Linked DNA regions of Homo sapiens: region 1 is linked to region 2. Evidence: promoter capture Hi-C in 16 types of primary human blood cells and fetal thymus (Javierre and others, 2016). All regions are on one chromosome and are shown on one strand. The core of a region is centred on a gene start or on the middle of the fragment in contact, and the rest is flanking DNA. Distances in the headings are between cores, read along the strand shown. Region 1 holds the start of SCIRT (stem cell inhibitory RNA transcript). Region 2 holds the start of XPO5 (exportin 5).

Region 1 (6,013 bases), core at 727-3,226, 500 kb before region 2:
TGGAACTTCGGAGGGTGGAGTCCCCGGGGAGTGGCCACCCCTGAGGCTCCCCAGGGCCCTGACAGGGAGTTGGGAGGTGTAGGGAAAGTGTGAAGAATGGCTTCCTTGCACACTCGACTTCATGCACTTCCAGGTGGCGGTGACAATGGTCAGGATTCTGCAGTTATATGAATGGCCACCAGGAGTCACCCTCAGCTCATGCTTGAAGTGAAGGCAGCACAGAAAAAGGGAAAGGAGCTGTAAGGGAGAAAAGGAGGAGGACACCCCACCACAGAGTGGATGAGCCTGGAGGGGACCCAAGGCTGCCAGAGTGGCTGCTTCATTTCTGCAGGAAGGTGCAGGACAGAACTCAGACTGGTGGGCACCGTGCCAGCAGGCAGAGGAGGGAGCAAAGGCTCATTTGTCTGCCTTCGGAATTCTCCTTCCCATGCTGATGTCAAATCACAATTCAACAGATTCTTCATGGGGCACCTGCTGCACACAGAGGGACAGGAATCTTACTGAACACCTAGTATATGCCAGAGCCTACACACACAGTGGGCTACTCAACATTCACAACAACTCTGTACAGTAAGTACAAATATTGGTCCCAAGATACAGATTGGGAAACTGAGGCTTATACCAGTTATGTGTTGTGCCCAAGGTCACCAAGCTGGATGAGGACTGACGCCTGTCTGGAGCCTAAATTCTTTCTCCTACACCAGATTGACTTCCAGAGAGTTCTAGGATACAAAGCTGGCAACAGACTTTCTGCCACGTAGAGGGATATGGCAGGTGACAACCCTGTCTGGCTCTGCTAATCAGGATCCAGTAAGAAGCTCAAGACAGGTGGCCACTCTGCTGGTAGGCAGAGGAGGGAGCTGTGCTCCCTGGGGTGGGTAGAAGTAAGGTTTGTGTGGGTGCTGGGTGTTGGACACGGGCAGGCTGCAGACATAGCAGCAATGAGGGGAGACTCTCTCAACCTGCCCATGTCCTCCTCTGAGCAATCTCCCCGCCCCAGAATTATTTCAGTTTCCTCATCTGTCAGTTCTAGGGGTGGACTTCATTCATTCAATACTGTGTCCCTGACCTCTGCTCCCTGCCAGGCTCTGAACTAGTCATGTGTCAGGCTGGATACTTAGATGGACAAGACAAGCCATCCCCTGCCCACAGCTGCCCCACCTGAAGTCTAGGCCAGTGACCTCCGAAGTTTTTTTGATCATGTGCCCTTAGCAATAAAAAAGATTGTTGAGTACGCACCCGTCAGATGAGTATGTTTTTATATAGTTTACCTTGTAAAACACACTCACACTAAATGAAAAAAGGATTCGATGAAAAATAAATAGGCATTCTAAAACTTTCTTCCAGTACCCCTGAACCACGCACACATATGGCACTTGGAACCCAACTGCTCCAGGAGCTGGGAGGGTAGGGTCAGTCCAGCCATACTCAGGACGGATGTGTGGTCAGTGTTCCAGAACATCCTTGCCCACCCCTTTATGCCCTAGCAAAGGAAGGGAGAAACTTCAGATACAGCAGGTGGGAGTGTGGGCAGATGGGAAGCGTAAGCAGGTTTATGTCTGAGGAGGCAGACAAGAGGCAGGTTTTTATTTTAGACTGTGATGTTGAAAATTTTGTGATCACTTTTTACACTGTCCCAGGACATACAGAACCAAGACATAGTGTCCCAAGTAGTATCTAATTTCATATACTTTAGGTAGTTCTATTCCATTTCCAAAGGTTTAGAATACCGCCCCACCTCAACCCCCAGGAAACTGGGGAGCACTCCCTCCACTACACACACTTGGGACACGAAGGACAGACCCTGGTTGGGGAGGCACTTAGGTGTCCCTTCCTTAGGGGCTTTATCTCTCACTTCCCCTCCTGGGTTGGAGGCTCCTGTGACCCCCTCGCCTGGGCAGGTCCCCATGCAGGGTAGAGCACTTGGAGGCCTCTGTAAACATGGGTTACAGGAGAGAGGGGGCAAGAGGCCACAGCTGGGGTACATAAGGAAACCCCTCTGTGGGCCCCCTTACTCAGAGAAGTCTCAGGAGAAACCCTTTCCCCCACCCCCAGTCCTGGCACCAAGCTGGAGAAAGACAAAATGGCTTGTGAAGGCATCTGTCTGCCCTCCAGGGTGGCTGCCAGGGGGGCAGCCATGATGGCTGGCCTGGTGTGGGTGCCTTTGTGTGCCATGACTGGGTGTCTGTTTCTGCAGTCACTAGGCGCTTGTTCTGTGGGGTGAGGGGTGTGGGGGTGGGGGCACGGCCTATGGCAGGGCACGTACGTGAGGCTGGGCACGAAAAGCCTCACCCACCTCCTGCCAGGTACAACCAGCTGCTGGGGCCAACTGCCGACCGCCTCCTCCCTTCCCTGGGCACGGCCAGGCCGGGGGGCAAATGACTTGGCAGGCACCTCCCCTCAGTTGGACCCACTAGGGCAGGGCCGGCTCACCTGGGGCACAGGCAGGGCTCCTGGCTGGGTGGGTGTTCTGCCAATCCCTTCCCCAACTCCTAAAGTGGGAGGGTGGTGGTGAGGCCAGGGAAGGGGCGCAGGTCAGAGATATGCCCCCTCTCCTCTCCCAGACTGTGCATGGGTAAAGCAGGGCAGAGAGGGGCTGGTGGAGGGGCGGGAAGTTTCTCTGTTTAGGGCCAGGAAATGATTTCCATGCAAATGAGATGCAAACTCCTTAATGAGTTTGCAATTAGGAGACCAAGGCTGCCAGGCCGGGCAGCGCCTGCAGGTTTTATGAATGGGCCAGCGTAGGCGGGGGGGAGGGGGCGCGCCGGCCCGCCCCCACATTTCCCTGCCGCGGCGCCCGCGACATGCCGCGCCGCACGTTGCTGCCTCCAGGCCCCGCCGCGACCTGGCCCACCGCCAGCGGGTCAGCTGCTCCGGACGGCGCGGGAGGCTGCCGGCCAGAGTCCCCGCCACGCCGCCGGCCGGCGACGCAAAGGAGCCGACGACACTCCCCCTGGGGCCCGGCAGGGGCTCTGTCCTCGGGCCCCCTTTTTTCCCGGTTATTGGAATGATTTCCCGAAGCAGGAAGGCCAGAAGTTAGCCTTCAGGCCCCGTTGTATTTAAAATGGGCTGCCCTGGGACTTCACTGACCAAAGGAGGGGGCTGGGCCCCTAACTTGGGTGACAGCAATGACCTTGGGAGGGATGGAATTATACGTGACAGGAGAGGGACCAGTTCCCATCCCAGAGCTCCTTGCACCTCTCCAATTCCCTCATGCCAGTCCACACCTCCCTAACCTCAAAAGGCCTGTTCCCACCACCCCAGGGCACCTGCTTTTTCTGCAGAGCCACCCTAGTCCACTTTGGGTCTTGCTCTGACCTGGGGCCCAGGAGAGGGTCTCCTAAGTGGGTGGGTACACACAGGTTTGCTGTGGTCCAGAAGGAGGCTGACCAGAGTTTGAGAGTTTGAGCCCAGTTAGGTCACAGCCCCCTACCTCCTCCCCTCCCCTCTCCTCCCCCTGTCCCCGCCCTGCCCCATTGCTTTCAGAGTAAATTAACTAATTACCTCCAATTAAAGCACCTGGCTCTCTGTATCCTCCTAGGCCTTCAATCACTGCTTCTGGGAGTCCTCTTCATCCAGGCAGGGTCTGGAAGGGGGCCTGACCAGTAAGTTGGAAGTCAGTGAATCAATGAAGTGGGGCGGGGAAGACAGGATGGAGGAAGCCCACAGTGCCATTTACTGCTTGGGAGTGGTCCAGGCAGCCAGGACCTCTGACTTGGCCAGCTTGCAGACTGAGGTTGGGTCTGGGGACTTGGGCCCTAGGGGGGCCTGTGAAGGCTGGGAGCAGGAGCTGCCTTTGGAGGTTAAGTCCCTGGTGAAGGGCCTGTGCAGATGTGTGCAGATGTCAAGGCCCTGAGGGTGACCCTAGAAGCCCCTCAGCAGGAGAAGCAACTTGAGGGTCAGGTCCTAGAAGCTAGCAGTTCTTGGCACCTGCTGCCTCCCTCACCCAGCAGGCAGGGAGAGACTCCAAATGCCTGTAGGCCCAACCAGTCCCTCCTGTCTTTAACCCCAGCTGGCTCCTCCTGCTGCTCAGGAAGTGAAAACCCCTCCATTCTTTTCTCCGGGCCCCCTTGGTGGCCCCCAGGCACAGGCCCAACACTAGCTCTGCCCAGCACTGTCCTGGCCCACCCCACGTGTAGGACGTGATGGGGAGGATACCTGGTGGCAGGAGGCAGACTGATGGATTGTTGACCTGGGTCTCACCTCTGGACGAGCTGGCCATTCCTGGGGACTGGGCAGGGTCACGCCAGGCTGTGACTCAGGCCCCTGCCCCACCATGCCAGGGACCTGGGCTTGGGCCATCCTCTGTGTATGTGGGGTGGGGTGGAGCAGAGGTTTGTCAATTGGAGGCTTCTCTTTGGGGACACCTCTCACAGCCCCAGGGAGCCAGACTATGACTAGAAGGATCAGGGTTTCCATGGCTGCTCCTCCCCACCCACCACCCCAATAGAGGCTGACAGGAAGGACTCCCAAGCAGGGCACAGCAGCCATATGAGTTAGTGGGTGTATGAGCCATCCAGGACAGGGGTAGGGCTCAGCACACAGGAAGGGCCACTCCTGGGGTGTCCTGAGCCCCTATCTGCCAGCTCGGCTTGTCTCCCTAGGCCCATGGAAAGCTGGCTCAAAACTCCCCACCTCCAGGAAGGCGTCACCATGCCTCGCTTGTTTGTGGCCAGCCCAGCGCTGCTCTCAGCTCCCACTTTTCACTTGTTTCTCTGCCTCTTGTCCCCTTTCCCAGATCCACCAAGCGTCTATGGGCAGACTGTTTTTTCCTGCACTTCCTAGTGGCCAGCAGAGGGCGCCGCCAAAAGACTGAGGCCACCACGGAGGGAACAGGAGAATCGGCTTTTTGGGGTCTAGCCACTGTGCAGAGCCCAGGCGCGTGGGTCGGTGTCGGGTGTGTGTGTACGTCTGTGTGTGTAATGAAACTGGACGCCTTCCTTCCCGGCGATCTTGACTTAACCTGTCAGCAGAGGGCTTGAGGTTAGACCACAGGTTGAACCTAGGTGGCTGCTGGAGAGGTAAGCCCAGGTGGCTCTTGGCAGGAAGAGGAGGATGAGTGAGTTGCTCCCTTCTAGCAACCCAAATGGGAAGGGACAACGGAGGTTGCCAGCTTTCCTCCCTGACCCTGGAAGAAGGGTTGGGAGGGGTTGCACAGAATAGCTGGTGTCCCACCCTGTGGGAGGAACTGCTATGGACATCTGGGCCACATCTGGTTTCCTGGCAAGGCAGGGAGCTGGTCTGTTTGGAATTCTTGGTCCACCGCTTGGTGGTCCCTCACCATTACATTCTAGGAGGACCCTTTACAAACAGGTGTATAGGGCGCAGCCCTGTAATGCGAGTGAGTCCACAGCAACCTAGTCGTGGTCACACTCCTTTGGAAGTGGCCCTAGGGGCCTGGGCAGCAGCCTGCTCCTCTGCGCCACTCGACCTTTCTGTGGCCATGTTGGAGTCTGCATGCTGAGATGCTGCCCTTTCCCCTTGGAAATGCTGGGAAATGTGCTCTGGTGTCCATCCTGGCCATGCCTCTTCCTCCAGGTGGGGTAAGAGATGAAAAGAGGAGTTAGTCTGCAGTACCTCTTAGGGACCCCACCCCATGAAAGGCGGAGTGGGGAAGTGCTTGCTGTTGGGTCACCTCCACGAAAGCTTGGGAATGCGGTTGGGACGGGTAGCGGGAGGAGGGGTCAGCAGGAGTGGTTCTTTCTTGGGTCTGGATTCTGGGTTTTGGGGACGAGACAACACGGAGGAAACCCCTCTTGGTCGGCTTGGTTCCAGGAGGCTCAGGCCGGGAGATGGCCGTAATGGCCTCGCAGAAAGAAGCGGGAGCGGGGGAGGGGGAAGGCTGAGCATCGAGCCCACCCGGACTCTCCCTCTGTCCTCCCCGCTGCGGGGGCCCACCCCTTCGCCCCCACCCCTCTATCTCCAGGGCCGCCGCGGCCCCTCCCCGAGACCTGGGCGCCGCCTCCCCCTCCCCTCCTCCTCCCCCTCCCACCCAGCGCTGCAGCTGCTGCCG
Region 2 (5,617 bases), core at 1,132-3,631:
GCATGAGTTTTTTGTTGTTGTTGTTGTTTTTGAGTTAGAGTTTCGTTCTCGTTGCGCAGGCTGGAGTGCAATGGCACAGTCTCGGCTCACTGCAACCTACGCCTCCCGGGTTCAAGCGATTCTCCTGCCTCAGCCTCCTGAGTAGCTGGGATTACAGGCGCACGCCACCACGCCCGGCTAATTTTTGTATTTCGAGTAGAGACTGGGTTTCACCATGTTGGCCAGGCTAGTCTCTAACTCCTGACCTTAGGCGATCCACCCACCTCGGCCTCCCAAAGTGCTGGGATTACAGGCGTGAGCCATCGCGCTCGGCCTAGCATGGGGATTTTTTTTTTTCCTAGACAGAGTCTCCGTCTGTCACCCAGGCTGAAGTGCAGTGGTGAGATCTCAGCTCACTGCAACCTCCATCTCCCGGTTTCAAGTGATTCCTCTGCCTCATCCCCATTAGCTGGGACTACAGGCGCGTGCCACCCCGCCCGGCTAATTTTTTGTATTTTTAGTAGAGACGGGGTTTCACCGTGTTAGCCAGGATGGTCTCGATCTCCTGACCTCGTGATCCGCCCGCCTCGGCCTCCCAAAGTGCTGGGATTACAGGCGTGTGCCACCGCGCCAGGCCGGGGATTTTTAAAAGCTCTCCAGGTAATTCCAATATGCAGCAGTTTGGGAGCCAAGACCTAAATAAGACAATCGAAACACCAGCAATCCATGATTTAAATACGAGAAACACAGGTTATACAGTTGAGTGAGCACCCAACTGTATTCTAAAAAAAGTTTTTCAAAAACTAACATTCACCTTGAAAAAAAAAACGTCTTACAACTGCAAAGCAGGAAGGTGAGTGGAAAGAAAAATAATTAAAATCAGAGCAGTCAAAGCATTAATTCCTTATAAATTCCAATCGACCACGCCTAAAACAGGCAGAATGTGATACTTTAAACATTTACAAGTTAAAACTATAACATGCCAGAAGTCCCTCTACTTTGAAGTGGCTTTTCAGTAGTACTGGAACAGACTGAGCCAACAAATAGTATTGTAACACAAAAAAACACAGGCTAAGCACCATATTAGATCCAAATACCAGAAGTGGAGCAAGAATAGGAAGCAGTGATTTATGTTCAGCACACAATTTACTAAGCACACAATCACAAAAACAGACATGCAGACTTTAACAGATAATAAAGCTGTTGAGGTTTTCCGTTTATGTATTTACTGGAGAAAGCAAGAGCTTTATTTATTTATTTTTGAGACGGAGTTTCGCTCTGTCGCCCAGGCTGGAGTGCAAAGGCGCGATCTCGGCTCACTGAACCTCCGCCTCCCGGGTTCAAGCGATTCTCCCACCTCAGCCTCCCGAGTAGCTGGGATTACAGGCGCGCACCGCCACGCCTGTATAAAAATACTAAAAATGCAAACATAATTTTTGTATGTTTAGTAGAAACGGGGTTTCACCATGTTGGTGAGGCTGGTCTCGAACTCCTGACCTCAGGTGATCCGCCCGCCTCCGCCTCCCAAAGTGCTGGGATTACAGGCGTGAGCCACCGCGCCCGGCCAAGAGCTTTATAAAGATGGAAAATGAAGAAGACTTTCTGCCCAAGCCATGCTTTTGGATAAGGATTACACTACTTTGAAACCTTATACATAGCACTTGGCCAATTATCAAAACTGCACAAACCTTCACTGATTGCAATTATTCCCTTTAAACATCTCGAGTTACCCCAATCCGCACAAAACAAGTTTAGTGCCCACCAGGTAATAATACATCCAGGAAAGTAATTCCAAGAGAGAGGTTTAACAACTACAGGGAAAAACATACTTTTTTCTACAAGAAAAATCTTAGAAGACAGTACCAGGGCCTTATCCCTGTTAGCATGATTTATATTTCACGCAACCTTGGCCCAGTCACTGCTACATTATAAAACCAATAGCCAAGGCAACATAGAAAGTCTGAACACAGTGACAGCGAACGGTTCTAAATTTTCTTACCAAGGTAACAAACACCTGGCAAAACTGCCAGCAGCGGTTGCCGAAAATGCTGGGTTCGGTGCCTACTGGAAGGAAAATGGAAGGGCTCCTGAATATCTTTTCGCCTTTCTAGGAGCGGTCCAGTGAGTTTCGAGCGAGATTTATTCCCTGTGACGACGGAGAAACCGAGAAGGGATCGTAAAGGATCCTGCCCGGGCAACCGTCCCCAGCAGGGATCAGACGAGAGCGGCGCGCCCAGCAATGCAGCCGCCAGACTGAGGTCTGACAGCGCGCCCGCTGCGAAGGGCCGTTGACGCGGCTGCGCACCGCGGCCCTTCCGCCTCCCGCCCCGCCCACCTAGGCTCAACCTGCACACGGGAGCCGCCACTTCCGCGGGCGCGTGCGCAGTGGCGGGCCGGGCGCGTGCGCAGCGCCGGCTTCTTCCCAGCGCGAGTTGCTGCTAACGCTCCTCCTCCAGCTTCCCACCCCCGCCGCCCGCCGCGGCCCGGTACCAACGGGTGGTCTCGCCGAGGGAGCTGTCGTGCCTCGTGGTCCCGGGACTGCAGTGGTGTGCGCTCTCGGCGCGTGGCGCTAGGCATGGCGATGGATCAAGTAAACGCGCTGTGCGAGCAGCTGGTGAAAGCGGTGACGGTCATGATGGACCCCAACTCCACCCAGCGCTACCGGCTGGAAGCCCTCAAGGTAGCTGGGGTCCTGGCGTCCTGGGCCGGTCCCGACACCCTCTCCCAGCCCCAGCAGCTCCGGCGCCGCCTGTAACTGGGGTAGTCTCCCGCCCACGCGGCCCCTGGACCTCCTTTCCCAACTCCCCGGGACCTTCCCCTCGCGGCCCTCCGCGCCTCTCCCAAATCGCCGCCTTCTCTACTCGCCGCTCCTGTCCTTTGCCTGGGACACTCCGGTCCCTATGCTGCTTCTCATCTCGCCGCAGCTTCCCACAGCCCTCTCCTCCCCCTTTCCTCGCTTCTGTGCACTCTTGTCCGCAACATGACCCTCGCCCATTTTCATTCCCCAAGCCCGACATCCCCTCGCCTTCCCGAGGCGCACGTGTAGATCCCGCCCCCAACACCAGCTTCGTTCTTTATGGTCTCTCCTGCACTAAACGTTTTCCTGCTGGCCCACTCCCCTGGCCCTGACCGAGCTCCAGCCCCTCTGGTACCCTTATGCTTATATGCTTTAACATCTCGCTAACTTTCGTTTGTGTCTTGGACATTTTCCGGGGAAATTCTCGCACCCCTACTTCTCCCATGTTTTTGAGTGTAATATTTTTAGGCTATTTTGCGCAAAGATAACTTCTACCACTTACTTTGCATTTTAACAAGGGCACTTTGGTTTCCTGAAAGTAGTTTGCGTGAGACCCGAATGCTCTGCTCTTGGGACTGACTTATGTTGCAGTTTGGGGGTGTTAATACAATTCAAGCTTACTTGCCCATAAAACAACGTGTGTGGGCTGTGAGAAATGGCCATTTAGGAGAAAATACTTGTGCTGTACATTTTTAAAGTGATGTTAACTTCAAAAAAGAGAGTGACCACCACTTGGAGGAAATGTTACAATATGTAGATGTCTGCCACAGGGTTTGGAATCAGAAACAATTGGGTTCCATTAGTTTGGTTTTTATTATTAATATTTAAAATAGACACAAAAGTGGAGAGAATACGACAGTGATTCTGCATGTTCCTGTCACCTAAATTCAGCAATCAAAGATTTTACCGCATTTACTTTTTCCACCGCCTATCCTCTCTCCCTGCCTCGAAGGTTTTTAAAAGAAACCCTAGAAATTGTTATTTCACCCCTATGTACGTCAGGGGGATGTCTCTAACAAATAATTTCTTATTCCTTTGTGTCCATTTTTTTCCAACACTAGTAGGGCTACTGTTGGCCGTAGCATGGAAAAAATCTGGAACCATCACGCTGGAAGGAATGTTTATCAGTTCTTTATTCATAATATATATATAATATATACACATAAAATAGAGTGAACACCACTTGGAGGAAATGTTATATATGTGTAACTTTTATATATTTTATATTTTTATTTTTATATTAAATATATATTTTTAAAGCAACTGTGCTTGGAGATCCACATAATATTGATCTAGGTTTTGCAACTTTAAACATATAGCTTAGGTTGGAGTTTCTTTTTGAGTAGGGTCTCACTCTGGTTGTCCAGGCTGGCGTGCAGTGGTGAGATCTCGGCTCACTTCAGCCTTGATTTCTCGAGCTCAAGTGATTCTCCTACCACTTCAGCCTCCTGAGTAGCTGGGATTACAGGCACCTGCCACCATGCCCGGCTAATTTAAAAAAATATTTTTAGTGGGCCGGGCACAGTGGCTCACGCCTGTAATCCCAGCACTTTGGGAGGCCAAGGCAGGTGGGTCACCTGAGGTCAGGAGTTCAAGACCAGCCTGGTCAACATGATGAAACCTTGTTTCTACTAAAAATACAAAAATTAGCTGGGTGTGGTGGCGTGCACTTGTAGTCCCAGCTACATGGGCTCAGGAGGCTGAGGCAGGAGAACTGCTTGAACCTGGGAAGCAGAGGTTGCAGTGAGCCGAGATCATGCCATTGCATTCCAGCCTGGGCGACAGAGTGAGACTCCGTCTCAAAAAAAAAAAAAAAAAATATATATATATATATATATTTAATAGAGATGGGGTTTCGCCATGTTGCCTAGGCTAGTCTCAGACTCCTAGACTCAAGTAGTCCACCCATCTCAGCCTCCCAGAGTGCTGGGACAGGTGTGAGCCACCGCACCCGGCCCTGGTTGGAGTTTCTTAAGATGAAATTCTTTTAGTCCCTATTCTCTCAGCCCTCGAAAGGAAACACTAACTTTTCTTCTTTCAGTTTTGTGAGGAGTTTAAAGAAAAGTGTCCTATCTGTGTCCCCTGTGGCTTGAGGTTGGCTGAGAAAACACAAGTTGCCATCGTCAGACATTTTGGCCTTCAGATCCTGGAACACGTTGTCAAGTAAGGAGCTCTTGGACATTACCACTGAAGTCTGAGAGAACAGATCTTTATATCTTATATAACCTATAGAGATGCTGTTTAGGTGAGTAGAGAAGAGCAATCTCCAAGAAGAGAGGAATGATCCCCTAGATGTTATCAGAACCTCACAGGAGCTCTCATTCAAGATTTAACCTTTCTTTTCTTCAGTTTCTTCATCCATGTAAAGTGTGTGGTACATATTACCCATTCAACAAATATTACCTGCCATTTAGCCAATACTTACTGAGCTCTGACTATATGTCATTAGCCCTCGAAGCCTTTTTAGAGTAATGCAATGTATAGGTCAATGAATCTCTGATTAGGCACTGTGGCTTTCTTTTTTCTCTCTGTCTTTCTGAGTTTGTGTGCCTTCTCTGGGTGGTACATCCAAAGCAGGATTGTATGAGAATAACTGAAAACCCATCCTAACTTGATTGTCCTACCCTCAACACCTATCAGAAGAGGTAGCCTTTAAGACTTAGCCATAGTTTTTCCAGAATTGTTTTGTAAGCCAGCACAGAAAATGACTGATGTCAAAACTGCATTTTCTGAAAAGCAAGTACATTGTTGCAGTTGACCTAGATGTATATTCACTTTTGGCCCATCAATAAAATCATGAGGCAAAGCTGACGTGTGGTACAAATCTTGTGCGGATTCCAG

What was found. Contacts are between HindIII fragments. The CHiCAGO score rates a contact against its expected background, and 5 or more counts as called.
Region 1: a contact is called between a fragment that was not itself captured here and the fragment with the promoter of XPO5 in region 2, in 10 of 17 cell types (erythroblasts, M1 macrophages, neutrophils and 7 more). The highest score is 10.6, in erythroblasts.

The regions. Positions count from the first base shown.
Region 1 is chr6:44,073,505-44,079,517 of GRCh38, reverse strand. It overlaps SCIRT (stem cell inhibitory RNA transcript), which reads left to right and starts at 4,866. Exons shown (of 5, transcript NR_125864.1): 1 at 4,866-5,021. RefSeq lists enhancers at 3,786-3,855, 4,976-5,235 and a silencer at 5,746-6,005. The HindIII fragment of the contact is 7,345 bases long and covers 1-5,648 here.
Region 2 is chr6:43,572,802-43,578,418 of GRCh38, reverse strand. It overlaps XPO5 (exportin 5), which reads left to right and starts at 2,381. Exons shown (of 32, transcript NM_020750.3): 1 at 2,381-2,659; 2 at 4,818-4,939. The coding sequence starts at 2,555. It overlaps POLH (DNA polymerase eta), which reads right to left and starts at 2,234. Exons shown (of 11, transcript NM_006502.3): 1 at 1,979-2,234. RefSeq lists enhancers at 136-636, 1,965-2,214 and a silencer at 2,235-2,434. The HindIII fragment of the contact is 3,950 bases long and covers 1-3,394 here.